Linked DNA regions of Homo sapiens: all the other regions are linked to region 3. The links are contacts of gene promoters, found by promoter capture Hi-C in blood cells and fetal thymus (Javierre and others, 2016). All regions are on one chromosome and are shown on one strand. Each heading gives the region's core, a stretch centred on a gene start or on the middle of the fragment in contact. The rest is flanking DNA. Distances are from core to core; before and after follow the strand shown.

Region 1 (3,612 bases), core at 203-2,702, 380 kb after region 3:
CCACTGAGCCCGGCCAACAGTACAGCTTAATTCTGCTGAGGCACCCACTCTTTCCTACTCAGCCCCCCATTTTAAGAAGCATGCATCCCCTCAGAATAACTAGCCAGGGGTAGAGAAGCAGTCAACTAGACATGGAACAGAACTGAATTCTGCACGCCAATCAACCCACTTGGGATAAAGCCTTGTCTCCTTAGCACCAGGTCACCTTCGTCTCCTTAGCACCATGTTTCTCTATCTAACTGAGGTAAATAGCCATACGATTCAATGAGCTGGACAAATGAGAAACACAAAGAAAGGAAACAAGTCTATTGCATGATTTAGGGAGATCAGATTGGAAAAGATACAGTGCTTTACTTTTAAAATCATCCTAGTCAGTGAAGCAATCCAAACATTGCCATAGACTTAAACAGATTATTTGTATTTTATACCACATGCATCTAGAACAGCATTATCTGTAACCCTCAAGCACTTGGAGCCCTAGAGTTAGGGAAAAGTATACCTTTTCATTGATCAGAATCTTTTTAAGCACATCTAAGCAAATTTGGGTGTGAAATTAGTACTAACATTTCTCCTACTTTTTGTGAGCACTAACAGCTAGCGCACACTCCAGTGGTCTTATATGTTGTTCTGCTCCTGACAGTGTTATAGAAGTTAACTTCAGGAACTTGGACAAGAAGGCCTGTATTCCAGTCCTTCCTTAGGCAAGAGGTGGACTTTTGAATCACATAATTCCAAGAGGAAACATAACCTTTCAAAAGATAAACCAACACTTCATTTATTTGAGGCCTCTGTTATGATTCTTGGACCACAGATAACTACTTTGAACAAATTCTCACTCTTCATTAGTGGAAAACACTTTCCTCTAATCGCCACGAATTACCCAACACCTGGAATTAAGCAGTCTTCTCTTACCATACTCATTTTCTTTCTTTCCAGTGGGATATTCTAGGTTCATAAGGTGACTGCCAATACTTATTTAGCTGTGTGCAGTATTACTGGTGTAGCTGAGACTGCTAGCTAGCCCCCAGTTCTGGGTTCGTGGCTGCCCAGAACAACTCCCTGCCTCCACGGCAACTAGATTTGACCACGTGATTTAACTTCTGGTTAGTGGAATGTGTAAGTAATGTGTCAACTTTTTAGGGCCACACACAAGTGTCCTTAAGCAGGTAGAGGGATGGTGGTGCTGTCTGTGTTGCCCCTTTCCTCCTTCCTGCTGGCTGGAACTGGAGCCAGTTTGGACCATGACGAACAAATGACATACTTTATAAAGATAGAAAGAGCCTGAAGAGGAAAGGGCGAAGGGTTTGAAACATGGTGGACGACATAAACCAGCAACAAACTACCAACACCATAGAGGAGCCCCTTGATTTCATCAGGCTCAGCCTGGATAAATGAATTTATGGATAAATGAGAGATTACCAGGAGCTTCTAGGCAGATTACATGCTTATGATCTACATTTAAATATGTTATTGGGAGATGTGGAAGAAACTGTGACTACTACAGAAATTGAGGAAGAAGCCATCATATATAAGAGATATATAAATCAGCGAAACAGAATATTCGAATGCTGTTTTTCCCAGAAGATGTTTTGTCCTGGTTGTCCCTCCGTTGAGAGTTGGCTGAAACAATTTATCCCATATGGAAAATAGGAGATTTTGTACAGGTACCTCTTTAAATGTTCAGGACATTCAAAAGAGAAACCAGCAAACATTTTGATATTAAGAAATTCTCCCACTCCTGAAATGAATTGATTTGCAGACAACTCATAACTTCTATTAAAAAAAAATTTTTTTTAATAGAGGTGGGGTCTCACTGTGCTGCCCAGCCTGGTCTCAAACTCCTGGGCTTAAGCCATCCTCCCACCTTGGCCCTCCAAAGTGCTGGGATTACAAGCATGAGCCACTGCACCCAGCCCAGATAATTCATAACTTCTTAAGCTAAATGGCATTTTTATTTTTCTCCAACCCTTCTAATAAATGTGATCACCAAGATGCAAAACTCTTTTTCAGGAAAAAAAAGAGGAGCATGAAGTGCCCTCCCATTCCTGGGGTGCCTCCCCCCAGTCTTTTTATACATGAGGGACAAATTACCTTCTATTTTGTTAAGGCCTCTATTATTTGGGGCTTTCCGTCACACTGGCTAAACTAATCCTAATGATACATCTGGTAAGGACTTCCTTTGGAGGGTAGCCGAGGACAAACCGAGCAGGGTAACACTCGGGAGGAGACTATGAGGAATAGAATGGGAAAGATACCACAGTGATGAAATGACTACAAGTGGCCTCCTCAGCCATGGAAACGATTAAAGCCAGAGTTATATTAGCACAGATAATAATTTCTTTAGTATTTCTTAAATGGTGTTATGCAGAAGTCCTAACTTTTATTGGTTGATTAATGTAGTTTATTCTAGTCTTGGTAATAATGATCCTGGGTAGTTTGTTAAAATTGCTGTGAGTACAAGTTGTCTTGGCTCTTTTCCAGGTCACCTTTGGTTACTTTGGTGCCTATAGCACTTCTCTTGCCCCTCGTGCTTGTTCTGATACTCACTGTCCAGGCCCTCCACCTGGGGGCCTCCCTGGGCCCACCTCACCAAGGCCCTCCAGCAAGCCATCAGGATGATAAGGACCTAACATACAAATCTACTCTGAGGCTGTGGTTCTTAGCCCTAGGTGAGCATCAGAACTACTCATAGAACTTTGTAAAAATAAACATGCCTCAGCCCCACTCCAGATAATCCTGAATCAGTATATCTGGGGTGCAGTTCAGGTATCTACACTTTTTTAAAAAGTAGACAGGTGATTCCGATGTGCAGCCAGAGTTACGAACCACGGCTCCAAGGTGTCGATGACTGATAATGGCTCCGTATAACAGTGCCAGCCACACACACGTGACCTCATGGATAAGCGTCGCTACCTGACATCTGTCAGTTATCTACCTCTACTCAGTGGTCTACCGCATAGGTACAGACAGCTGTGCCTTATCCCTAGGAGAGCTGGAGCTCTGTGCCTCCTCCTCCCAGTGATTTCTGATGTACTAGCTTGTTACCACACTGTGGATGAGAATATCTCGATTAATGTGCTACCTCTCCCAGAGGCATTTGTAGTTCAACAGGGAATAATGCTTTAATCTAAGGGAATGGGCCCCAAATGATGGAATTTCAGGAATTACAGAAGTCAGTTGAAAAGATATTTTGGAAGAGGGGCCCTTTTCCAGTTAACTTAAACACACACCATTTAAGCAGCACCAATTCTACTTATAAAACAACAACAACAAAACAACCGGGCCTGATTCAGAAGATGTTTTAGACTTCTGAGGGGAAAAGTATCTATTTCTTCATCTTCCTTCACCTGCTGTTTGAAATCACCTTCAGCCCTCACACTTTCTCTTACCTCTAGAGAAGCAGTGCTGTTTGCCCCTAATTCAGCCATAGTTAAATGGCAAGAGAGCTCATGTTAAGAGAGCACATTACACTCTTCTGAATATCCTTTCATACATGGAATCCAACCTTAGAACACAGAGCAAAGAGTCATTTAGTGATCATTCCCCTGTTACAGCACAGGCACAGTCAGTCTAATCAATATTTTCATGTATCTGGCCAGCTTTTACAAACCT
Region 2 (3,846 bases), core at 487-2,986, 460 kb after region 3:
TGGTGCTATCAGAAATAGCCCCATACTCAGAGTGGGCACAGTGGCTCACGCCTGTAATCCCAGCACTTAGCAAGGCCGAGGCTGGTGGATCACTTGAGGTCAGGAGTTTGAGACCAGCCTGGCCAACATGATGAAACCCCATCTCTACCAACAATATAAAAAATTAGCCAGTTGTGGCCAGGCGCAGTGGCTCACGCTTGTAATCCCAGCACTTTGGGAGGCTGAGGCGGGTGGATCATCTGGGGTCAGAAGTTCAAGACCATCAAGGCCAACATGGTGAAACCCCATCTCTACTAAAAATAGAAAAATTAGCCGGGCGTGGTGGTGCGCGCCTGTAATCCCAGCTAATCGGGAGGCTGAGGCAGGAGAATCGCTTGAACCTGGGAGGTGGAGGTTGCAGTGAGCCGAGATTGCGCCACTGCACTCCAGCCTGGGAGACAGAGCCAGACTCTGTCTAAAAAAAAAAAAAAAAAATAGCCGGGTGTGATGGCACGCACCTGTAATCCCAGCTACTCAGGAGGTTGAGACAGGAGAATTGCTTGAACGTGGGAGCCGGAGGTTGCAGTGAGCTGAGATCTTGCCACTGCACTCCAGCCTGGGCGACAGTGCGAGACTCCGTCTCAAAAAAAAAAAAAGAAATAGCCCCATACTCTTCAACATCTGCTGTGCTTTTGAGAAGCTTTTCTGTATTCAAGGAGCTGCATCCTCACTCTGTGACTACCCCTTAAACTCTCTTTAAAACCCTCTCATCCTCTTTCTTGTTTGTTCCTCTCTGTGACTAGCCTGTCATTATTAATGTACCTGTCACCTCTCACCTGTTCTAGGGAAAGAATCTAATGTTTAGAGCATCTACTATGTATCAAACACTTTCAGTTGTTTTTACTTCAGTGATACAATTTACATCCCCACAAGATAGAAGGGAGATATTATCCCTACTCTCACAAAGAAGCTAAAGCTAGGAGAACCTAAGGTCATGTGACTACTAAATGACCAAGCGAGGATTAGATCTCAGTCTGTCTGACTCCAAAGCCCATTACTCTGCTGTAAGCTCCCAAGGAGCAAGCAATCTTCTGATTCATCATTACATACCTCATGGGAACTCAAACAGCACTTTGCACATAGAAGATGCTTGATAAATATTATTGATTTGAACTATGACTTGACCCCTTGAATATCTGTAGTGTTCTGGCAATTTAATGTGTGCCCAACTTTCTCTAAGAAGCCATACCATTCGGCTTGGTTTAAAAAAAAATGCTCTTCAGGTTCAGCAAGGGCATCAAATGTGCTAATTTTACAATGTAGACAGGAAGATGGCAAAAGGAAAGTGCTTGCTCTCTTCCTCTAGATGATTTTTTTAAATTTAATAATCCCATCAGGGAAGTTAACAGTTCACAGTGATAATGGCAACAATGAAACCACCAAACAGAATCTCCCATGCAATCACTAGAATAAATGAGCAGAAGCATGAACAAATTCTAACTGACGCTATCCTCTTTTCACTTTTCAGGAGTATAACATGTATGGCTGGTGGGTGGGAGAACTGAACAGCCTCGTTGGGATTGTTCCAAAGGAGTATCTCACCACTGCCTTTGAAGTGGAAGAAAGATGAAACCCAGGTATCAGAACCATGGCCAATGAACTGCCTAATAGTTGAGTGGAACTTGTGGGCCACTACTTTGTTTCTCTGAAAGATGAGAGTTGCCAGTGAAGTAGCTTTTCTTCATTTCTCATACTAATGCTAGTGATTCACCACTGATGGAAAGAAAATGCCTCTGGAATTGTTTTTTTCTTAAATTTGGGGACAGTGTCACTTAGGATAAGGTTCAACTAATAGCAACATAAAATCTAAACTAAAAATGACTTAATTAACACAGAAAGCCAGGCACAGTGGCTCACACCTGTAATCCCAGCACTTTAGGAGGCCGAGGTGGGCAGATCACCTGAGGTCAGGAGTTCGAGACCAGCTTTACCAACATAGTGAAACCTCATCTCTACTAAATATACAAAAAAAAAAAATTAGTCAGGTGTGGTGGTGGGCGCCTGTAATCCCAGCTACTGGGGAGAATCGCTTGAACCCGGGAAGCGGAGGTTGCAGTGAGCCGAGATCACACCACTGGACTCCAGCCTGGGCAACAGAGTGAGACTCCGTCTCAAAAAAAAAAAAAAAAATTAACACAGAAATGTATTTTTCTCTTCTGCAAAAATCTAGAGGTAAGTGGTCCAAGGTATCCAGTCCCAGGTACCTTTTCTTTTTGTTCTTCTCTGTGTGCCCAACATTCTCAAGGTTACCTCAAGGCCAAGACAGATGCTCAATCTCCAGCCATCCTGTCTGCAACCTACACAGCACAGCAGGAAAGATAAAAGGAGAAGGTCAGGCCGGGCGCAGGGGCTCACGCCTGTAATCCCAGCACTTTGGGAGTCCGAGGCGGGCGGATCATGAGGTCAGGAGTTCAAGACCAGCCTGGCCAACATGGTGAAATCCCATCTCTATTAAAAATACAAAAAATTAGCCAGGCATGGTGGTGTGCACCTATAATCCTAGCTACTCAGGAGGCTGAGGCAGGAGAATCGCTTGAACCCGGGAGGCATAGGTTGCAGTGAGCCAAGATCACGCCATTGCACTCCAGCCTGGGCAACAGAGCAAGACTGTCTTGAGAAAAAAAAAAAAGAGAGAGAAAAGCATACCCTCTTCCTTTAAGGGTACTTCACAGATGTTGCGCACACACTTCCTTTCACATTCCATTGGTCAGAAGTTGGAATATATGGACACAGCAAGCTGTAAAGAAAGCTTATAGCCCTGTGTCCAGCTTAGAATTGGGAGATTCATGATTAAATACAAAGGGAAGAATGGATATTGGGATAAAACTAGCAATTTTTGCCACAGGGATGGATCTAGGTTTATCCCCAGCTCTCAAACCCAGGGCACCATTTCCCCAAAATCCCCACATATTGCAATATGACTGACCAAGATTAGGAATCCAATATGAGGATTCCTTATATTGGAACATATGAAATATTGGAACTATGGAACATAATCAAATTAACTTTTAAGTAATAGAGAATATGGTTTGCAGGGCCAGGCACAGTGGCTCACACCTGTAATCCCAACACTTCAGGAGGCCAAGGCAGGAGGATCACTTGAGATCAGGAGTTTGAGACCAGCCTGGGCAGAAGGTCTCTACAAAATTTTTTTTAAAAAATTAGCCACGTGTGGTGGTGCACGTCTGTAGGCCCAGCTACTTGGGAGGCTAAGGTGGGAGGAATGCTTGAGCCCAGGAGGTTGAGATTACAGTGAGCCATGACTGCACCACTGCACGCCAGCCTGGGTGAAAGAGCAAGATCCTGTCTCAAAAAAAGAAAAAGAATAGGTTTGTGTTGTATTAGCAAGAACCACATTGTGTTTCAAAATAGTGGGGGTGGGTGCCTGGTTTGGGTGGAGTAATAGTGGGAGCCACTTTGGTGCAGAGTGGGTTTTGGTTAGAATTAAGATTCTGATGGAGGGCCCCCAAGACCAGCATGTTGTCACTAGCTCCATCTTCTGGCCTGAAATAGGAGCAGTCTTCACTGCTGGGGGTAAAGAATGGCATCAGTGTGACAGTGATACAAACATTCCTTGGAGTCCAGACCAGAGCCCACTCTAGTGTGCTGCAGCAGCTGAGTGAACTCATTTAGGAAAATACATAAGGATAGATCTTATTCTCCAATGCCCTTGTACAACCATACAACACCAGCTCAGGCCTGTCACTCAAGGTTTGACTTTATGATTTTCCTGATGAAGACTGTTTCATGGCCACAAGTATAGAGGGTTGGAATTTTTCTGTCAAATCTAAACAAATCCAGCCAGCC
Region 3 (4,156 bases), core at 1,657-4,156:
TCTGCGTAACAGGTTCCTCCTTTGGGCCCAGCGGCCGGCGAGGCCGCCAGACATACACACGTTACCAGACGCTGGAGCTGGAGAAGGAGTTTCACTACAATCGCTACCTGACGCGGCGGCGGCGCATCGAGATCGCGCACGCCCTGTGCCTGACGGAGAGGCAGATCAAGATATGGTTCCAGAACCGACGCATGAAGTGGAAAAAGGAGAGCAAACTGCTCAGCGCGTCTCAGCTCAGTGCCGAGGAGGAGGAAGAAAAACAGGCCGAGTGAAGGTGCTGGAAAGGGAGGGAGGACGCGAGGGGAAAGGCCTGTGGGGAGCCGAGGGCGTCAGAGAGACCCGGGAAGGAAGGCTCTCGGGTGGGGGAGCCAGGAGACCTGCTCTCCGGCGCAGACAGGCGGGGCCCAGCGCTCTCCTGGACGCCCCCGCCCGCACAGCTCCCGGCGGGTGCTCTGAGGCCTCACTACTCGAGCCCACCCAGCATCCCGCGCGCCCTTCCTTCCCGAGGAACTCGCCTCAGCCTGATCAGGCTTCCTGGTGAGAACTGAGGAGCGGACTCACTTGATGTTTCCTGGAAGCAGAGCAAAATGCTCTTGTCCCTGTCGCGTCTCATTTTGTCCATGTCCCCCGTGCACGGTTCAATGGTAGATTCGCTGTCCCCTCAGCGGGGGCCTTGAAGACTCCCTGATCCCAGACCTGTCGTCTCTCCCACCCCCTCCCCAAAGCCACTGGAAGGAGCACATACTACCTAGAAGTAAGAAGAGGAGCCTCAGAAGAAAACAAAGTTCTATTTTATTAATTTTCTATGTGTTGTGTTTGTAGTCTTGTCTTAGCTCTGGACGTGAAATACTTCGATGATGATGATGATGATGATGATGATAATAATAATAATAATAACAACAACAACAACAATAATAAAGATGTGAAAACTCGACGCTCGGTCACCTCCAATCCTCCCCTGCCATTTTTTCCTCTCTCCTCAACCCCCAGCCTCTCCATCTTTCCTGAGCCAGAATTCTTCAGCAAAGGCGAGAGCCCTGGCCCGCCGAAGCGAGCCCTGTTCGACTGGGAAGTTACAGCTGAGATAAAGGCTGGAGCGATCAGTCCTGCCCAGGCCCCAGCGCTGCGTTTCCCTGGTGCTGAGGCTCACAGCCGCTTCTCCCCGTGCAGACTTGGGGGATGGAGAGGTGCTGTGTCCCTCTCATTCTCTAGCCTTTCCTCGTGTATACACAGCACTAAGGGAGCCACTGAGGCCCCTAAAGCTCTCTGGCGGAGACGGAGCCATAGTCTGGGGGCCTCTGCAGCGCTTTTCTGTCCTCACCTTCGCAGCGACCCCTGGTCTTTGGCCCGTCCACATGGCCAGGTTTTTTCGCCAGCCTTGGCCCTCCGCTCCTGGCCTGTGGCTCTGGAGACTGAAAAATGGGGCCACTGGGTATCTCTCACCCTGCAGCTGAAGGCTCCAGGTGCCCCTTCCCACCTCAAGTAGCAGATCAGCCTCAAGTAGGAGATCAGCCTCAAGTAGGGGAATGTAAAGCCACCAGCCAGGCACAGGCCGAAGGCCACAACTTTCCCTTGCTCCTTGGAGACCCCAGGGCAGGAGGCCAGGTGATGGGGCTTTTAGTGTCATCCTCTCAACCCAGAATGGCTCATTCTCTCTCTGCTTGCACCGGCACCCAGAAGGCAAGCTGCGGTCACTGTTTTCCTTTATTCCTCCGCCCTCTCGCTTCCTTTCTTATTTTTAAAGAAAATAGTCCCCTCCTAATAGGAGACCAGCTGCGGCGGTCTCTGGCCGCCCAGCGTGCTCAGCAAAGCATGCGGGTCCTTGGAACCCCTTTTCCGGGAAGGCGGCTGCCACCAGGCAAATTCTCAAACTGCCTAGCTGCGAGTGAGGGACCTGTAGTGGGGCCTCCGAATGCAATAGCCGAGGAGGAGGGGAAGGGATCCCGCTTTACAAACTCTCAGACACATGTTACTACTCAAACTAAGCAGCAGACGCGGTGGCCGCTGCAGTCTTTTCGGCAACTAGGCCGCTTAGCCCCAGCTGTGCTCGGTTTCTGGGGTCCCTGTCCTGCTCTGTCACTCCCCACGCCTGGGCTAAGGACCACCAAGGAGGTCCGGAAGGGGATTTCGAACTTCCAAGTGGCCCAGGAGAAGTGAACGCTTCTCCTTCTTTTTCAAGCCTCCCGCCCAGCCCTGCCGGCTCGGCCTGGGCGCTGTGGACCGGTAACAGCAGTTCCACCAGGATGCAGGCCGGACTAAGCTCCTGGGGAAAACCCGTTGCAATAATTGTTTTTCACACACAACTTCCAACCCTTCCCCCATTTCCGCCTCCAATTCGGAGACTTGCAAAGCCCAAGAAAGGGAAAAGCAACTCTATCTTTGATCTTCTCATCCAAAGTTAAAATAATAACGACAATGATGATGTAGGGAGAAAGAACCAAATAGAGAGGCTAACCCCACCCACAAGAAAGTGGGTAAAAAGCCCAACCCCTGCTCTAAAAGGCTCAACCCTGTGGCTGAGCCTTGGCCGGGTTTCTTTCTCTCCCGGCGACTGCAGGGAGCCTGCAGGGAGCCAGCAGGGAGGCAGCCGCCCGCCGCCATGGCGGTCTCACGCCCGCGCTCCCGTCGGTCGCCGGGAGGTGGCGCGCTCTGCTCAGAGGCCAAAGCCAACCTTCTCTCTGTTTCTCCCCCTTCTCCTTTTTTCCCCCTCTCTCGGAGGCTCGCATTGAATCGGCCCTAACGATTCTCGGATCGTCATTATTTGTAACCATAGAGCATGAATTACCTCTTGAGGTCATCAGCGAGAATTTACGACTGGTCAACAAAAGCACGTGATTCCCTAACGCCCCCCACCCCCCTTCCAACCCCCCCCCCATATTTGGCCGCATACATAGCAAAACGAAGTACAGTGCATCGCTATAATTCATTAATACATCATAAATCGTGAAGCACAGGGTTATAACGACCACGATCCACAAATCAAGCCCTCCAAAATCACCCAAATGAGCTCGTACTTTGTAAACTCCTTCTCGGGGCGTTATCCAAATGGCCCGGACTATCAGTTGCTAAATTATGGCAGTGGCAGCTCTCTGAGCGGCTCTTACAGGGATCCCGCTGCCATGCACACCGGCTCTTACGGCTACAATTACAATGGGATGGACCTCAGCGTCAACCGCTCCTCGGCCTCCTCCAGCCACTTTGGGGCGGTGGGCGAGAGCTCGCGCGCCTTCCCCGCGCCCGCCCAGGAGCCCCGCTTCAGGCAAGCGGCTTCGAGCTGCTCCCTGTCCTCGCCCGAGTCCCTGCCCTGCACCAACGGCGACAGCCACGGCGCCAAGCCCTCTGCTTCGTCCCCCTCCGACCAGGCGACCTCAGCCAGCTCCAGCGCCAATTTCACCGAAATAGACGAGGCCAGCGCGTCCTCGGAGCCTGAGGAAGCGGCAAGCCAGCTAAGCAGCCCCAGCCTAGCTCGGGCGCAGCCAGAGCCCATGGCCACCTCCACAGCCGCGCCCGAGGGGCAGACTCCGCAAATATTCCCCTGGATGAGGAAGCTTCACATCAGCCATGGTAATTCTCTCTCTCTTTTTTGTCTTCTCGGCTTTCCTTCTCTGCGTTTTGGGGTGGGATCGGGGGGACAAGGAGAGCTTGGCTTTACCCTAAATATAGATTCATTTTTCTAAGGGGGAGAAGTATCTAAGAGGGGCCTCATAGCTTCGTAGACAGAGCCAAAAAGGGTCTCTCTGTTAAGAGGGGGGTATTTTTAATAATTTGTTTCCAGCTTCGGCTTAGGTTTTTATTAGCGCAGCTGAACCAGCTTTAGGATAAAGGATGGGGTTCATATAATGTGGGGAAGGGTCCTGCTTACCCCTGAAATTTTGAGACTGTCGCTAGCAAAGAAGGGGTGAACAGTAAAAGGAGCTTTCCGGGGCAAAAGTGCAACCGCTCTCCTCCCTCCCGGGGCGAGCGGCCGCCTGAGCCCAGCCAAGGGTGAGGCACTAGGAGCGAGCAAGAGACAAAGCCGGGCGCACTGGCTGCCTGCAGAAGTGGGGGATGCAGTAGAAAGGGGTGCAGAAATCGAGCTTGAATGTGGGCATCTGGAGTAGAGAGGATTGGAGCTGTGGTGAGCTGGGTGCCGGGACGCCTGGGTCCTGCTCCCCCG
Region 4 (4,048 bases), core at 641-3,140, 490 kb after region 3:
CTAACAGGAATGGGTGGGGGGCAGGGGGCCAGCTTTTACACCCTTGTTTGTCCCTGCCCATTTGCTATTTCTGTCCTATCAGAGTGCCCTTTTTTCAATCCTCCCTGTGATTGGCTACTTTTAGATTCCTGCATTTTACAGAGCGCTGATTGGTGCATTTTGCAGAGTGCTGATTGGTGCATTTTACAATCCTCTTGCTAGCTACAGAGGGCTGATTGGTGTGTTTTTACAGAGTGCTGATTGGTATATTTTACAATCCCCTTGCTAGGTATAGAGCGCTGATTGGTGCATTTCACAATCCTCTTGTAAGACAGAAAAGTTCTCCAAGTCCCCACTCGACCCAGGAAGTCCAGCTGGCTTCACCTCTCATCTTCTCTGTGCTTTCTTGAAGCCCTTTTAACTAAACTCTATTATGATATTGCTGGGCTGGGTTTTTCTTACATGACAGTTCTCCAGAGCCGTGAACAGTGCCTGCATCAGCAAAACTGTCTTATAAATGCAAACTCCTGCCCTGAACAGTGCCTGCATCAGCAAAACTGTCTTATAAATGCAAACTCTTGCCTTTTGGGGTAGAGTGCAATAGAGTTTCCCTCTTCCTCCTGATTAGAAGGATACTTTAAAATAAAAAAATAAAACTTTAGTTATATTGTGGCTTAAAAACATGTTTTTTTCCTAATTGTGTGTTTCCTTGGGATGATTGGGTGAAAGGTGCTGACGGAGATTAATGACACTGAAAAAGGTGAGCACAACTTACAATGAAAAAGAGGACATTTTTGTGGCGCAGCCAGTGAAAAGGGGGAAATTCAGGAAGCTATGAGAGGCCTATGGGGGGACCTAACCTACTCTAGGGAATCAGGGAAGACCTCAAAGGGGAAGTAATCTTAACACTGAACAGTATTTTTTTTTTTAGACGAAGTTTCGCTCTTGTTGCCCAGGCTGGAGTGCAATGGCGCGATCTCGGCTCACTGTAACCTCCACCTCCTGGGTTCAAGCGATTCTCCTCCCTCAGCCTCCCGAGTAGCTGGCACTACAGGCGCCCGCCACGACGCCCAGCTAATTTTTGTATTTTAGTAGAGATGGGGTTTCACCATGTTGGCCAGGCTGGTCTTGAAACCCTGACCTCAAGTGATCCACCCACCTCCGCCTCCCCAAGTGTTGGGATTATAGGCTTGAGCCACCGTGCCGGCGTGAGTAGGAATTTTACAGAGATTTGAGGAGGCAGAGATTGAGGACTAAGAAATCATTGGAAATTTGAGGCAGCGGCGATATGATAAAGTTCTGGTGAAGAATCTAAGATTCAAAAATTTTGAGGATGTGAATTACAGAACTGTCCAGAAGTGGTTGATTTTTTGGGGGCCAAGCATCAGGGGGCTCGCTTATAAAAATCATATGTTCTAATTTTTTTTTTTTTTTTTTTTTGAGATGGAGTCTCGCTCCATCGCCCAGGCTGGATCGCAGTGGCTGGATCTCGGCTCACTGCAAGCTCCGCCTCCCAAGTTCAAGCAATTCTTGTCTCAGCCTCCTGAGTAGCTGGGACTACAGGCACCTGCCACCACGCTCGGCTAATTTTTGCATTTTTAGTAGAGACAGGGTTTCACCTTGTTGGTAAGACTGGTCTCGAACCCCTGACCTCAGGTGATCCACCCGCCTCGGCCTCCCAAAGTGCTGGGATGACAGGCGTGAGCGACTGCCCCTGGCCCATATGTTCTAATATTCTAGGTTACAACGCTCTACGCTGCAATCTCTCCACCGTTACAGTTTAAAAACTATAAGTCCCTACCACCCTCGCCTACTGTGCGTGCGCGGCGCGCGGCGCTTCGGGCCTTGTAGTCTTGGACAGACCCCCGAGGCCCATGGTGCCGTGCGGCGGGTCGTTGCGCCTGCGCGGTGCGAGCGGCGGGCAGCGCAGACTGCGAGGCTCTTTTGTTCGGCTGAGGGGAGGGCCGTTGGCCGGGGCCTGCGGTACGCCGCTTCAGTGAGGGACGCCACTGCGGCCACCCGGCTTGCTGCCTTCCTGGGCGCCACTCCCCCAGGCGACCCGACGCGACGCGCCAGCAGCGCAGCACCGATTCCTCTCGGGCTCTTGGGCGCTGCTCTGAGGTGAGGAGCCCGCTGGAGGCGGGAGAGCTGGGGGAGGGGGCGCGGCGGCGGCGGCGGCGGGAGCCCTGCGTGAGGGAACGCGCTTTCGAGGCGGAGGTTAGGAGCGGGGAGCGCGCCCGGGTCCAGCGTCCTGCTTCTCCGCTTCCCGCGCTGAGCTCTTCGCCTGTCGCTGAGGCGTCGGTGCCAGCTGCGTGAAGGATGGAGAGGGCGGGGCGCGAATCCTGAGCCAGAGACTGAGTGCTTGGGGGTGGGCCGAGCACTTGGGGGCCGCTCTTCGGGGCCCGGGTGGTCTGGAACAATGTTGCTTGGCTGGGCGGCTGCGGGATAGGGCGGAAGGGGACAGGCTTGAGGCTTGGATAGGCGTGAGGAGGCGCATACGACCGCACAACCCGAGGTTTGTAACTGTATTCGGAAGACGCCGGGTCCGGCTGGGACTGCCAGAGGAACCTGGCTTTGCAGGACTACGGAGGAGTAACGTCGAGTGAATTGGAAGAGGGCCCAGGGCCGCACAAGGTGTGCTGATTGGAGGAGGAGATGTGTGGAATAAATTGGGAAAGGGGACACGGAGGGGGAGGGGCAGGCGTTTGCTGGGCCTGACTCTGGAAGGGGAGGAGCTGTTAGGATAAGTAGGGCGGAGATCCCGAGAATATTTCTATAAGGTATGTAAGAAAAAAGGGGAAAGCAGGCCGCCCTTGCATCCTGATGGGTCCTTACAGTGGGGAGGCTGTAAGAATAATGTGCGAAGAAAGGATGGAATACGCTTTTTTCAGTTTTCCAGGTTTCCTACTACCTTCACTCCATGATTCCTTTGGGGAGTTAAAAAAGTCCAAGTGCAGTTCTTGCTTTGATTCAAAATTAGTTCCGTACGTTTTTGTGTGGGATCGTAACTGGTCTCACAAAGGTGATGAAATTGTAAAAATATGTAGATGAGTTAATAGTTGAGGAACGGCGTGAGGTAGTGAGAGATTGTGAGATCGTGTGAGGTGCGAGAAATTGGGAGACATAGGAAAATTATGTGAGATTGTGAGGTAATATTTGTTTCGTGGGCCCTTCTGTTTTTAGCCAGCTTTTCCTTGTTGGAAAATTTGAATAGAGTGAGCTATATTTTACCTCTTTTTTTTTTTTTTTTTGAGAAGAGTCTTCCTCTGTTGCCCAGGCTGGAGTGCAGTGGTGCGATCTTGGCTCACTGCAACCTCCACCTCCCGGATTCATGCGATTCTCTTGCCTCAGCCTCCCGACTAGCTGGGATTACAGGCACACGCCACCACGCCCGGCTAATTTTTGTATTTTTAGTAGAGACGGGGTTTCACCGTACTGGTCACGCTGGTCTCGAACTCCTGACCTCGTGATCCTCCCGCGTCGGCCTCCCAAAGTGCTGGGATTATAGGCGTGAGCCACTGCGCCTGGCCATATTTTACCTCTTTTTCAAAGTTTCAAATGAGGGTTTTTCATAAATTGGTGTTACATTTAGACGTGTTGGTTTAACGCAATTGAGGTGGAATTTACAAAAAGTTCAGCTATAATCAGTTATATACTAGAACCCCTAGCCCAGGGTAAAGTAGCCTCCTCAATTGTGTTAAGAGTCACATCAGCAGTTTGGAAAGATTGTGAAAGGTCCAAGGCTTTGGAATAGATTCAGGAATACAATGGGGAAATTAATGCCGGTGTTCCTCCCTAGGTGCCTTATAGACTTTTATATGAAAGTGGTGTGATTGAAAAGCACTTGTATTGAAACCGGTGGCACCTTAATGAAGCTTCACGGGAGTGGAGGACCTGAAGTCGTTTACGGTTTTCCCTGTGGTGATATTTTTCTTCAATGGCTGCTGTATCCTAAATTGTTTCTCATTAAAAAAATAAATAGTAGGGTCGGGCGCAGTGGCTCAAGCCTGTCATCCCAGCACTTTGGGAGTCTGAGGTGGGCGGATCATGAGGTCAAGAGATCGAGACC
Region 5 (4,093 bases), core at 473-2,972, 400 kb after region 3:
CCCCAGGCTGTTGTGAAGTGGTTCAATCACAGCTCACTGCAGCCTTGAACTCCTGGACTCAAGAGATCCTCCTACCTCAGCCTCCAAGTAGCTGGGACTACAGGTTTGTGCCACCACACCTGGCCTCCCCAGGAGCAATTTTTTGACAGCACTTCAGAGAGCCTTCTCTTCTGTAACTGGTCCTCACCCCACTCAATGCCTCACCCTCAGTAGAATCTGCTACTGTTTCCTTGGAGGGTGTTTTCAGAGGGGTAGGAGAAATGAAAGAACCCTAGAAAAATGAACTTTCCTTTGCTGCTGTTCATCTCATGCGTGCACCCTGAGATTGATTAAAAGGATTTATGGCAACCACATAGTTTGCTAACTGTGAAACACACAAATAAAAGTAGTCCATGAACAAGGAGGTTAACAATAAGGACCAATTGGATAAAAAATCAGGCACATAGACACACTTAAAAACAGAAAAAGAGGCTCTTCTGATCTACCTTTTTATAACTAAGCTTGAAACAGCTTTAAAGCAAAATGTAATTTTGATTGCATTTTAAATTGTCGTAGATGTTATTTTAAAACAAAAAGTAGGAAAAGCACTGAGCAAAGTGCCAGCTCATAGCCACCATTGAATAAATGTTATTGTAGGAAATGTTCAAAAAACAATTGTTTGAAAAAAAGTTATTTCAACCATAACTCTCAAGATACTCTATAGGTGGCCCAGTTGATTCATATGTAGTTATGCCTTACTTTGTTTTGTATTTGGTTTGCTTCATAAATTATTTAAGACAATCCAAAAGAGATTTGAGTTCTGGGACTAAAAAGAATAAATGTTAAAATACCGCTAGCCCAATTACCTTCATTTTGCCTAATTAAGAAATGTGGAGTGTGTCCTTAAAAGAGGCTTTTTTTTTCATTCTTCTTTCATTTTATTTTTTGAGAAGTAAATTCCTTCTTTGTCTCCATCCTTTGTCCCTCCCTTCTGTGAAGTAAGTATAAACCCCAGTGGAGGAAGATGGATTAGGATCTTGACTTCTCAATAAATTTGTACCTAACAAGGCTAATTGAAAGCCAAGAATGTTAGCAGCATACAATTAAAGGCTGATGTAAGTTTCAGGGTATTATTTGTGAAGCCTTTTACAGTTCTTAGATTCTTTCGCATACTTTTTTTTGTTTGTTTTGTTTTGAGACGAAGTCTCATCCTGTCGCCCATGCTGGAGTGAAATGGCACGATCTCGGCTCACTGCAACCTCCGCCTCCCGCATTCAAGAGATTCTTGTGCCTCATCCTCCCGAGTAGCTGGGATTACAGGTGTGTGCCACCATGCCCGGCTAATTTTTTGTATCTTTAGTAGAGATGAGGTTTCACCATGTTGGCCAGGCTGGTCTCAAACTCCTGACCTCGTGATTTGCCTGCCTCAGCCCCACAAAGTGCTGGGATTACAGGCATGAGCCACTGGGCCCAGCCTCTTTCTCAGACTTTTAAGAAATCAGGATTTGACAGTTATTGCTAAGTTCAGCTTGCATAGCCCTTCTTCTATGAACTTAAAAAAATTTATGTTCACAGAGATGGCTATCTGTTTGTTAAGAGAAAAAAAATTGAGTGTGTATTTATTGCTCCCTCTTAGGTGACTACGTTTATGGTGGAATCTATTACTCATTAAAGCTGTCTGTGCTGGTAGCTATTCATTTGACTTTTGATTATCTCAGTGAGGTTTATCCAACTTGGAACTTATATCCACAAAAAAATTCTTAAGTTTGGCTGGGCGCAGTGGCTCACGCCTGTAATCCCAGCACTTTGGGAGGCCAACGTGGACGGATCACGAGGTCAGGAGATCGAGACCATCCTGGCTAACACGGTGAAACCCCATATCTACTAAAAATACAACAAAAAAAAATTAGCCGGGCGTGGTGGTGGTCGCCTGTAGTCTCACCTACTTGGGAGGCTGAGGCAGGAGAATGGCATGAGCCCGGGAGATGGAGCTTGCAGTGAGCCAAGATCGCGCCACTGCACTCCAGCCTGGGCAACAGAGACAGACTGTCTCAAAAAAAAAAAAAAAATTCTTAATTTTCTGGAGTCCTTTTCCTGCCCATCAGTGCATATTTACGCTACCTCACCTTACTACAAATTAGTGTATATTTAGATAGTTTTAAGCAATTTTAGCATTAGATATAATTGAAAAGAAAGAAAATTGGCTGGGTGTGGTGGCTCACGTCTGTAATCCCAGCATTTTGGGAGGCCGAGGCGGGTGGATCACTTGAGGTCAGGAGTTCGAGACCAGCCTGGCCAGCATGGTGAAACCCCATCTCTACTAAAAATACAAAAAACATTAGCCAGGTGTGGTGGCACATGCCTGTAGTCTCAGCTACCTGGGAGGCTGAGACAGGAGAATGGCTCGAACCTGGGAGGCAGAGGTTGCAGTGAGCCGAGATAGCGCCATTGTATACTCCAGCCTGGGTGACAGACCAAGACTCTGTCTCAAAAAAAAAAAAAGAAAAAGCAAGAAAATTTACTTTTCCCTCCAATCATACAGAAATTGTTTTATTTTGTACTGTGTTTAAGCAATTGCCCTTTTTGTACTCTGTTATTAATGTGAATTACCTAAAGTAGCCTAAATAAATGAAAATTTTGCCAGGTTTCAATAAAGCATTTTGCCATTGGTCCTTTTAGGAATGGAAGACATCGTAAAAGGAGCTCAAGAACTTGATAACGTAATCAAGCAAGGATACTTGGAGAAGAAAAGCAAAGGTATTGGTCAGACCCACAGATTTCAGAACATTCCAGGAAGGGAAGGGAAGTGAGGAAAAAGAAGGCTAACACATTGGATGCCTTCTCTGTGCCCGGTACTGTGCTAGGCGGATACAAGGCAAAAGCAAAGCAAGGAAAGGAAAGGAGTCTGGTGTTTTCGTGTAGGCTAAAGAGAGATGTCCCAGCCTTGAGCAGACTGTAAGCTTCATCAGGATAGGGATGGTTATGTCCTGCTCACCTCTGTATCCCCAATGCCTGGTATGTGACAGGTGCTTGATAAAACTTGTTGAATCCATGAATGGTGTTCTTGTCCTCATCTCTCAGTGTGCTCCCACTGTGTAGTTTTTGTATCATATGTGAAGCAGTCTACTTTCAAATTTCAGATAAACCCAACTCTTTTGTTTTTTGTTTTTGTTATTGTTGTTGTTGTTGTTTGAGACAGAGTCTCACTCTGTAGTGCAGTGGGTGTGAACCTGGCACACTGCAACCTCCACCTCCTGGTTCAAGCGATTCTGCTGTCTCAGCCTCCTGAGTAACTGGGACTACAGGTGCGTGCCACCATGCCCAGCTAATTTTTCATATTTTTAGCAGAGACAGGATTTCATCATGTTGGCCAGGCTGGTCTTAAATTCCTGGCCTCAAGTGATCTGCCCGCCTCAGCCTCCCAAAGTACTGGGATTACAGGCATGAGCCACCACACCCGGCCTTTTTTTTTTCTTTCTTTCTTTTTTTGTTTTAAGATAGGATCTCCCTCTATTACCAAGGCTGGAATACAGTAGCGCCATCATAGCTCACTGCAGCCTCCAATCCTGGGCTCAAGCAATGCTCCCACTTCAGCCTGTCAAAGAGCTGAGACAACAGGTGCACACAACTGTGCCTGGCTATTTTATTATTTTTTTATAGAGACAAGGTCTCACTTTGTTGCCCAGGCTGGTCTCAAACTCCTGGCTTTAAGCATACTTCCCATCTCAGCCTCCCAAAGTGCTGGGATTACAGATGTGAGCCACCACTTCTGCCTTCAAACCCAACTCTTGACCTTTAACTCATTTAATTAGAGTAGGTACCACTAGAGTTGGCATCTCAGGTTTAACACTCAACAGGCAAATTGGCTCAGCACCAAAACAAAGGCTCTTTCATGGCCAAGGCCTGGAGAATCATTTTGCTTTGTCAAAGGCAACACATAAAGATATAATGGAGAGTTTGAAAATGTACAGGATGAGATTAGAACCCGAAAGATATAAAGGAGTCTAGATAAAAAGACAGCTGTGGGGGCACAGAGCAGGCAACCCTGTTTAGAACTTGGACCTTTGACTGAGCTAGTCCCCTGGACCCTGAGTCAATATGGGATAACCTGTGG
Region 6 (3,820 bases), core at 111-2,610, 360 kb after region 3:
CACTGTGTACACTAACTTGAAAATACTATGGTTTAAACAGACTGGGACAGAGAGATGTAAACACTGCCTGCATCTATCCTTTAACCTATCCCTGAATTAAATGCCCACAGCCTTCTTTCTTCATCATCTGTATCACATCTACCTCCTAAACTGTGCAGATTACATGAGATAATATATGTAATACATTTCATTATCATAAAGGACTATACAATATCTTTTTTATGCAACTGTGCTTTTATGCAAAAATCAGGTTAATATGTCATTATGCCTCTATTCTATTCCATTTCATTACATGTCTGTCTAATAAAGATTTAGGATCTTACTTATAATTATATATGCTTACTCACTCATAAAACAATTTTTTTTGAGACAGGGTCTCACTCTGTCACCCAAGCTGCAGTGCAGTGGCATGATCGTGGCTCACCGTAGCCTCTATCTCCCCAGGCTCAGGGGATCCTCCCACCTCAGCCTCCCAAGTAGATGAGACTACAGGCACACACCACCACACCTGGCTAATTTTTTGTATTTTTTGTAAAGACAGGGTTTTGCCATGTTGCCCAGGCTGGTCTCACACTCCTGGCCTCAAGCGATCTGCCCACCTCAGCCTCCTAAAGTGCTAGGATTACAAGTGTGAGCCACTGCAACCGGCACATAAAACAAGATGATTATCTTCTTTGTGTATATGTTAGTGTAAATCACTTTTTGCCAGGCATGATCTTCCCTCTCCCCCATCAAGCAGTTCTGGAAGAATCTGCAGAAAGACACCTTTGAGTTTAACACAAAACAAAGCTTTGTTGATGCTTTAACCTAGTATGGACAAGAAAAGACATCCTGGAAGGCTGTCATGTGGACAGCAAGTTCTAAGAAACAGGTTACACAAGAACATTGCCTGGTTTATTATTTTTAATTTAATGAACATTGTTCCTGTAAAAATTGCAGGGCAGATATTACAGGAAATCAACATCTTTTTTTAGCCCTAGAGCAGACAGCCCAGTAATGGCCATGGCTGGACAAGTATGCCTGACCTGCATTCTAACCAAAGGGGCATTGTTGAAAAGTGAGAAGGATTTTTCAGTTCAAGGTCTGAGCCTGGATGCTCTGCCCTTCTAACAGAGACTGTCAGCATGGAGGCGAATTTTGAAACTAAGTTTTGTGATGTGTGCACTTTCCACTAAAAACTGGACCAAGCCCAAGACTCATTTCTCAGGGTTTCCTATCCAAGCACAAGATGAGGAATGGTCTTTGGTCATTACCACTTGGTTTGGAATAGCCCAGAGGTGAAAGAGTTGCTATTAGATTTCATTAATCTGAAGAACACTGTTTAGGTTAAAATGTCTTCTTGCTGTTATAATTGGAGAGGGTGACATTGGTGTTTAGCACCAGCCAAAATATATAAACTCAAGATTAAGGAGAAAAAAGTTATGAGTTGAACCTGTGAGTTTAAAAAAACTGCAAATATTTTATTTATTTTTTATGTATATTTTATTTATTTATTTATTTTTGAGACAGAGTCTCACTCTGTCACCCAGGCTGGAGTGCAGTGGCATGATCTCAGCTCACTGCAACCTCTGCCTCCTGGGTTTAAGCAATTCTCCTGCCTCAGCCTCCCGAGTAGCTGAGATTACAGTCACCCACCACAACGCCCAGCTAATTTTTGTATTTTTAGTAGAGATGAGGTTTAACCATCTTGGCCAGGCTAGTCACAAACTCCTGACCTCAGGCGATCTGCCCACCTCGTCCTCCCAAAATGCTGGGATTACAGGTGTGAGCCACCACGCCAGGCCCGCAAATGTTTTATGATGACAAAAAAAGGTTTAGTACTGCTAACTTAACTGATGCTTCTAGGTAGTTGATGATCATCATTCTCTTGCTTTATTTCCAAGTCTACGTAATAAAAACAAAAATAAATAAAATTTTCATATTAAAGCTTCAGAACCCTAAGTTGAAAAAAGAGATTCATACTTAACCGCAGGTCTTTTGGGTGCCTACAATGTGTCAGACATGGTGCTAAGTGTTGGGTGTAAAGAGAGTAGGATCCAGACCTCACCCTCAGGGATGCACGACCAAGAGTACAGAGACTCACTCCAGACCTGAAGGCAGTGCTGAGAAGAGGCAGAGAGGTCTCCTCTCTGAGCTGAGCATCAGATGTTAAACTGTGGTGTCTTTCCTTATCTGCCCCAGCTCTTACCCCACCTGCCTGTAGAGGGCCCTGTGCCAGCAAACCACAGGGTTCTATTAGGAATCCCACCACAGTGTCAGCTCCTTTAGCCCAGCTCTGTGGTGCCTAGTTCTCTCTTCAGTTTTCCAAAATGCCTAGGACCTGGCCCAAAACCCCAGGCACTAAACAAAAAGGCTTAACTGAGCTCTGGCAGTCACTAGCTGTATAGTTTGAGCAAATTACTTAAACTCTGTATCCCTCAGTTTCTTCATTCATAAAATGGGAAAACGCCTACATCATAAGGTTGTTTTGAAACCTGAATGAGTTGATACATGTAAAGCACTTAGAACAGCAACTGATACATAAGTGGAGTCTAATAAATGCTCACCAGGCTATTTCCTCAGTTCTAACACAAAACCTAATACAAGGCTTAAATTATTCAAGGCCCACCTTTGCTATCTATTGGGTATGATTTGAGAATTTAACACAATACTGCAGCAATATTTGAATAATGCTCCAAAAGCAGAAACCAACCTATAGAAGCATCTATGATTAGCTCTGGTCAGATGTCAGAAAACATTTCAGGCTATTCAAGTGTCAGTGCTCTCTATGGGAGGTTTATTAACAATACAGATGTTCTATATTGCGTTTTTTAGTGAGACACAAATACACGGTGTGAAAAAATTAAGTATTTTAGAGACAGACTTTTTATTGGTGTATTAGAAAGATTTCTCATGCTCATTCAATCTCTCTATCTCTCTATCTCTCTTTGTCTTTCTCTCTCTCTCTCTCACACACACCCTACCCCACCCCCACATCTTATATAATTATGTTTCCTGCAATCTTAACAATACTGAATTACATCAGTGTTTCTCTATGCATAAGCCTGCAACTTAATTGTAGATATTAAATATATGTCATAATATCTCTGCTACTTATTAGTGATCAGGATATACACAGAAATACACCTTGAAATGAATGAGAGACTTTGTAGCTCCAATATTTTTATTTATTTAACCAACATTTACATAGTGCATATTGTGTTCCAGACACAGTTCTAAGCACTATTTAGCAGTAATTCATTTTATCCTCGTAACAACCTTATAAGATAAAACTGAAACACAGAGAAATTGATCAGTTCGCTGAAGTCTCACAGCTGGTAAGGGTTGGAACCTGGATTCAGAGCAGGCTCTCTGGCTGCAGAGTCCATGTTCTTCACCACCACTCTCTACTAGCCAGTCAACTTCATTTCTTTCAGACCCCACAATAAAAATAAAAATGAGCTTCTCTTTGAGACTATGTTATGGAATCTCCCCTTGATAAAAAATTCCAAAATGCCAATCCTCTCTGCATTCTATAAAATTCTAAAATTCTTTTATTTTCCACTAGAGGTAAAGAATTCTAAAATTCTTAACACAAGGTGTTAGTGCTCAATTGGCATTAATTAGTGGCTATGATGATGCATAAAATTTAGGTTTTAAAACATTTTTCAGTCCCTTTCTGTACTGAGCTGGAGCTTGAGTGATGGGGTGCCCAGACAGAAACCAAGAAAGATCCAAGAATCTTAGGACAGAGAAGGAGCCATGAACTCATGTAGTCTAGCCTACCCATTCTGCAGACCAAACTGCAGATAAATCAAATGACTTGCTCATCATTGCAGAA
Region 7 (3,792 bases), core at 1,204-3,703, 430 kb after region 3:
TAAAATTACATCTTATTCATCCCAGACTGTTAACCATGCTTCAGGCTGTTAGTGAGCCCATCCTTTCTAAGGTCAGATGCCCCTCTGAAGCCTCCTTAAGTGGACCAAGGACCTATTCCATGGTTGTCAGTAAAGGAATGCTGCACATTGCAAGGGCCACCTCAAGGACATTCGTTCCGTCGGCAGAGCCCTAATCATGACTGATTTAGATACTGGCTGATATTTTTCTTAGGGAGTCTATGAAAATCTTAAGCCTAGGAATTCTTGCCCTCTTTCCCTCCCTGCTCCTTCTCCATTATCTAGCCCTGTCTTTTCCTATTCTCCTCTCTCCTTTCCTTGTGCTTTTTCTTCTCTCCTTATCCATCCAGCAAAACCCCCATTTCTAGGTTCATTCTCTACAGAAAGTGAATACTTAAAAGGTTCAGGACCCAACTTCCTAAGGGTCCAGCTTCTCCCAGGGAAGAGAAGAGACAACGAAGATGCAGCCTCAGAAGTCATGCGCCAAAGCAGGAGAGAAAGAAAGCAGTGGAGGCGGGTGTGATGCACGGATGTGAGTGTAGCTGCAAGTACCTCATGATAGTGAACACATGTGATTAGGTCCATTCTGAAACCTATTTCCTTCTGTTGTCTACTTACTGTACAGAATTCCAAATGAAAATCTGTTCTGACCCGCCCATGTTCCACATATATCTTTTCTCAACCAACTTCCATCACCAGTGCAGAAAAGAAACACTTCATGTGGACAGCTTGGGTGGAGTAACTGTAAGCTTCCTATGGCCAATTTCATATTAAACTCCATTCAGAAAGCATTGATCTTTTAGCAAAGTCTAGAATCCAGTTTCAGACTCCTCCCTCATCTCATTTCCTCCTTCCACCTCTTTCTCTAAGGTTATATCTGGGAGGTGAGAGGAGATTTATTTCTTAACTGTTCCTACAGCTATAATTCAAGTAGGTTTAAAAAAAAAAAAACCTTTTGTTCCTCATGCTTCCTGCCTCCAAAATAAGTGTTGTTAAAGTATAGCAAGCTCTGAATATGTTTCTATGGTTTACACTTCCCACCAGTTATAATGATTGGTGACTTAGTGATTAAAAAACAGGAGGACTTTTTGCTCTCTCTGCAGAATCTGAGGCAGGAATTTTTATTATTTGTGTTTACTTATTTATCGATTGATTTTATATACTGCCTTTTCTCCAAAGGCGCTATAGAAATGGTGAAAAATACATAAATCCAAATGTCATCATTTAGTTTTGTAACAATAAAAGATAGAGGTCTGGGGGAAGGGCAGGCAGCCCCAGTGAAGGCATTTAAAAGGCAGGGAGCTCTAGGACAGTGTGAATTCCTATGTCATAGACAAGCTACACAAGTTTGGGCTACTTAGTTTTTCTCAGGTGTGTGTTTTTTTGTTTGTTTGTTTGTTTTTTGAGATGAAGTCTCGCTCTGTTGTCCAGGCTGGAGTGCAATGGCGCTATCTCCGCTCACTGCAACCTCTGCCTCCCAGGTTCAAGTGATTCTTCTGCCTCAGCTTCCCGAGTAGCTGGGATCACAGGCACGTGCCACCACGCCTGGCTAATTTTTGTACTTTTAGTAGAGACAGGGTTTCACCATGCTGGCCAGGCTGGTCTGGAACTCCTGACCTCAGGGGATCCGACCGTCTTGGCCTCCCAAAGTGCTGGGATTACAGGCATGAGCCACCACGCCCAGCCTTTTCTCAGGTGTTAACATGCTTTTGGGGAGAAAAATATATATAAGCAAGTTGACCTTTCCCTTCTTCCTTTTTTCCCAAAAGATGCTATGGCTAGCAGAGTTACTTTTAAAATCCAAGTACTTTTCTCCAACCTCGATGGATCCTGTTCCTTGAATGCTGTGCTTTTTTCTCTGATGGAATTGCTAACATTCTGAAGGCCTAACTAGATCTTATCAGAATAGGGGGGAAGGGATTCGGTTCATCCTTATTGAGTGTTAATGACCCTGTAAGATGTAATTTCTTTTATTTCATTCTGTTACCTAGAAAATCTATCACAGCCTTGTAGTATTGATTGCTCAATCTATAAAGAGCTCAGTTTACAGCATGACTGTTAGTAACAGGGTTATTTTAATGAGTGACTCTTCAACACCTCAGAGTTTCACTAAATTCCAACCCATCAGCCCAGTAGTCTAACATTAAGGGTCTTAGGTAATGAGAACTTATCACCTTTCCCTATCATGAAAAGGTAACCTCCAGGTAACCAAAAATAAAACTTCCTCTGTGTTCGTTTTTTATAGAAATTACTGGCCATTTGTTTGCATGTGCTATGTCAAATAAAAAGCAACCCTGGAGGCACAAATCATCCTTAGATACATAAAATCCCTGACCAAGGAAAACCTGAAACAGACCCCTCCCACCCGTACCTCCTTCAGTCTGCCCCCAACCCCAACTCTGAAATTGTGGAAAAACTAAGCCAAAAGGAGACACAGACCACACTATTGTGGTCTTATAAGCAAATGATTGCTTTTAGGAGGGCCAAAAAATGGTTGCTTATACCATTCCATCTCTGAGGCCCCCTTCTCACTTTAGTGCGCGCCAATAGAGTGAACTACTACATGAAAGAAACAAAGGGAAACCACAGAGGTGTTTGCAGCTCTTACCTTTTGAAGCCTGTTTTCCAAGACCAAACATGAGCTGATTATTAACCAGCTAAAATTATGGCCCAATGAAAAGAGGAAATGACATGAAAATCAGAATCTGAGTATACCCCACTTCCAAATCATACTTATACCACTAAGATCATAGTAATTTCAAAACTCAAGATTAAAGGGCTATGAAATAAGCAAATGGTATTATCCAATTGCTCTTCCTCCTCTGGTGCCACAGTCATTGGGGGCTTGGCAAATATTTTCATAGCTTTCTTCTGAAATAGTTAATAAACTATCAAGGCTGGGCGCAGTAACTCACATCTGTAATTCCAGCACTTTGGGAGGCGAAGATGGGAGAATTGCTTGAGCCCAGGAGTTTGAGATCAACCTGGGCAACAAAGTGAGACCCTGTGTTTTCAAAAAATTAAAAAGATTAGCTGGGTGTGGTGGCATGCACCTGTAGTCCCAGCTACTCAGGAGGCTGCAGGGGGAAGATAGCTTGAGCCCAGGAGTTCGAGGCTGCAGTGAGCTATGATTGTGCCACTGCACTTCAGCCTGGGTGACAGAGCAAGACCCTATTTCAGAAAAAAAAAAAAGGAAAAATTGTCAGAGTTTACTTGAATGAACTCAACATGTTAGACCTTTCTGACCTGGCTTAAAGAACATTTCAAGTCACTTCCAATGGGTCACTACTTTGGCGTTTTTTGTCCAAGTCTTACCATCCCATCCTCTCGTAGGACTGGCTTTATCCATCTTCATGTTTTGTCTCTCTTTTCCATAACTTAAGAGGTTGTACTCAATGCCAGGCCTTATTGACACGATCATTTTAGTAATCAAGAAAATGTAAATAACATGCTGGCCTGCCTTTAGCCACTTTTCCCTGATCACAGCCTGAATTCTGTCGCTACCCAGTGACTCCCAAACATAAGCTGAACTGTGGAAGGAACAGTCAGATTTTATTGTCCCTAAGGAAGGAGAAAGGCAGAGAGATGTCCTGGTCCTTTTTACCTTAAAACTTTGCTCGTCACACAGGCTAATTTTCAGCCATTGACTCTATCATCAGTAGCACCAACTTGGCCTCAGTTACAAGAGAAATGACTGTCACTAGTTGTAAAGAACCTGGCATGCAATGACAAATGCTTTGCAATAAATAGAAAAAAGAAACCAATACTTTTTTT

What was found. Contacts are between HindIII fragments. The CHiCAGO score rates a contact against its expected background, and 5 or more counts as called.
Region 1: a contact is called between a fragment that was not itself captured here and the fragment with the promoter of HOXB5 in region 3, in 2 of 17 cell types (M1 macrophages and endothelial precursors). The highest score is 7.9, in M1 macrophages.
Region 2: a contact is called between a fragment that was not itself captured here and the fragment with the promoter of HOXB5 in region 3, in 2 of 17 cell types (megakaryocytes and total CD4 T cells). The highest score is 5.6, in megakaryocytes.
Region 4: the fragment with the promoter of CBX1 here is called in contact with the fragment with the promoter of HOXB5 in region 3 in 10 of 17 cell types (total CD4 T cells, naive CD8 T cells, total CD8 T cells and 7 more); the score reaches 11.8 in total CD4 T cells.
Region 5: a fragment that was not itself captured here is called in contact with the fragment with the promoter of HOXB5 in region 3 in 1 of 17 cell types (endothelial precursors); the score reaches 5.4 in endothelial precursors.
Region 6: a contact is called between a fragment that was not itself captured here and the fragment with the promoter of HOXB5 in region 3, in 1 of 17 cell types (erythroblasts). The highest score is 5.4, in erythroblasts.
Region 7: a contact is called between a fragment that was not itself captured here and the fragment with the promoter of HOXB5 in region 3, in 3 of 17 cell types (endothelial precursors, total CD8 T cells and megakaryocytes). The highest score is 5.7, in endothelial precursors.

Annotation. Positions count from the first base shown.
Region 1 is chr17:48,209,463-48,213,074 of GRCh38, reverse strand. The region is part of intron 4 of SKAP1 (src kinase associated phosphoprotein 1); the gene reads left to right. It also overlaps the pseudogene LSM3P1. Among named protein-coding and RNA genes, the nearest start is that of MIR1203, 55 kb to the right of the region's middle. The HindIII fragment of the contact is 9,033 bases long and covers 1-3,612 here.
Region 2 is chr17:48,134,999-48,138,844 of GRCh38, reverse strand. SKAP1 (src kinase associated phosphoprotein 1) reads left to right here. Exons shown (of 13, transcript NM_003726.4): 12 at 1,508-1,616. The coding sequence ends at 1,609. Among named protein-coding and RNA genes, the nearest start is that of MIR1203, 20 kb to the left of the region's middle. The HindIII fragment of the contact is 2,109 bases long and covers 682-2,790 here.
Region 3 is chr17:48,592,529-48,596,684 of GRCh38, reverse strand. It overlaps HOXB5 (homeobox B5), which reads left to right and starts at 2,906. Exons shown (of 2, transcript NM_002147.4): 1 at 2,906-3,564. The coding sequence starts at 3,003. The region is part of intron 1 of HOXB-AS3 (HOXB cluster antisense RNA 3); the gene reads right to left. It overlaps HOXB6 (homeobox B6), which reads left to right. Exons shown (of 4, transcript NM_018952.5): 4 at 13-934. The coding sequence ends at 272. RefSeq lists enhancers at 22-191, 249-920, 1,963-2,468, 2,698-2,767, 2,469-2,976 and a silencer at 3,233-3,282. The HindIII fragment of the contact is 5,828 bases long and covers 1-3,550 here.
Region 4 is chr17:48,099,320-48,103,367 of GRCh38, reverse strand. It overlaps CBX1 (chromobox 1), which reads left to right and starts at 1,890. Exons shown (of 5, transcript NM_001127228.2): 1 at 1,890-2,100. RefSeq lists enhancers at 1,472-1,731, 1,558-2,157 and a silencer at 2,102-2,151. The HindIII fragment of the contact is 8,551 bases long and covers 1-3,856 here.
Region 5 is chr17:48,188,066-48,192,158 of GRCh38, reverse strand. It overlaps SKAP1 (src kinase associated phosphoprotein 1), which reads left to right. Exons shown (of 13, transcript NM_003726.4): 5 at 2,659-2,736. Among named protein-coding and RNA genes, the nearest start is that of MIR1203, 34 kb to the right of the region's middle. The HindIII fragment of the contact is 2,439 bases long and covers 503-2,941 here.
Region 6 is chr17:48,227,303-48,231,122 of GRCh38, reverse strand. All of the region lies in intron 4 of SKAP1 (src kinase associated phosphoprotein 1), which reads left to right. Among named protein-coding and RNA genes, the nearest start is that of SKAP1-AS2, 65 kb to the left of the region's middle. The HindIII fragment of the contact is 1,138 bases long and covers 792-1,929 here.
Region 7 is chr17:48,166,287-48,170,078 of GRCh38, reverse strand. The region is part of intron 10 of SKAP1 (src kinase associated phosphoprotein 1); the gene reads left to right. Among named protein-coding and RNA genes, the nearest start is that of MIR1203, 12 kb to the right of the region's middle. The HindIII fragment of the contact is 3,368 bases long and covers 770-3,792 here.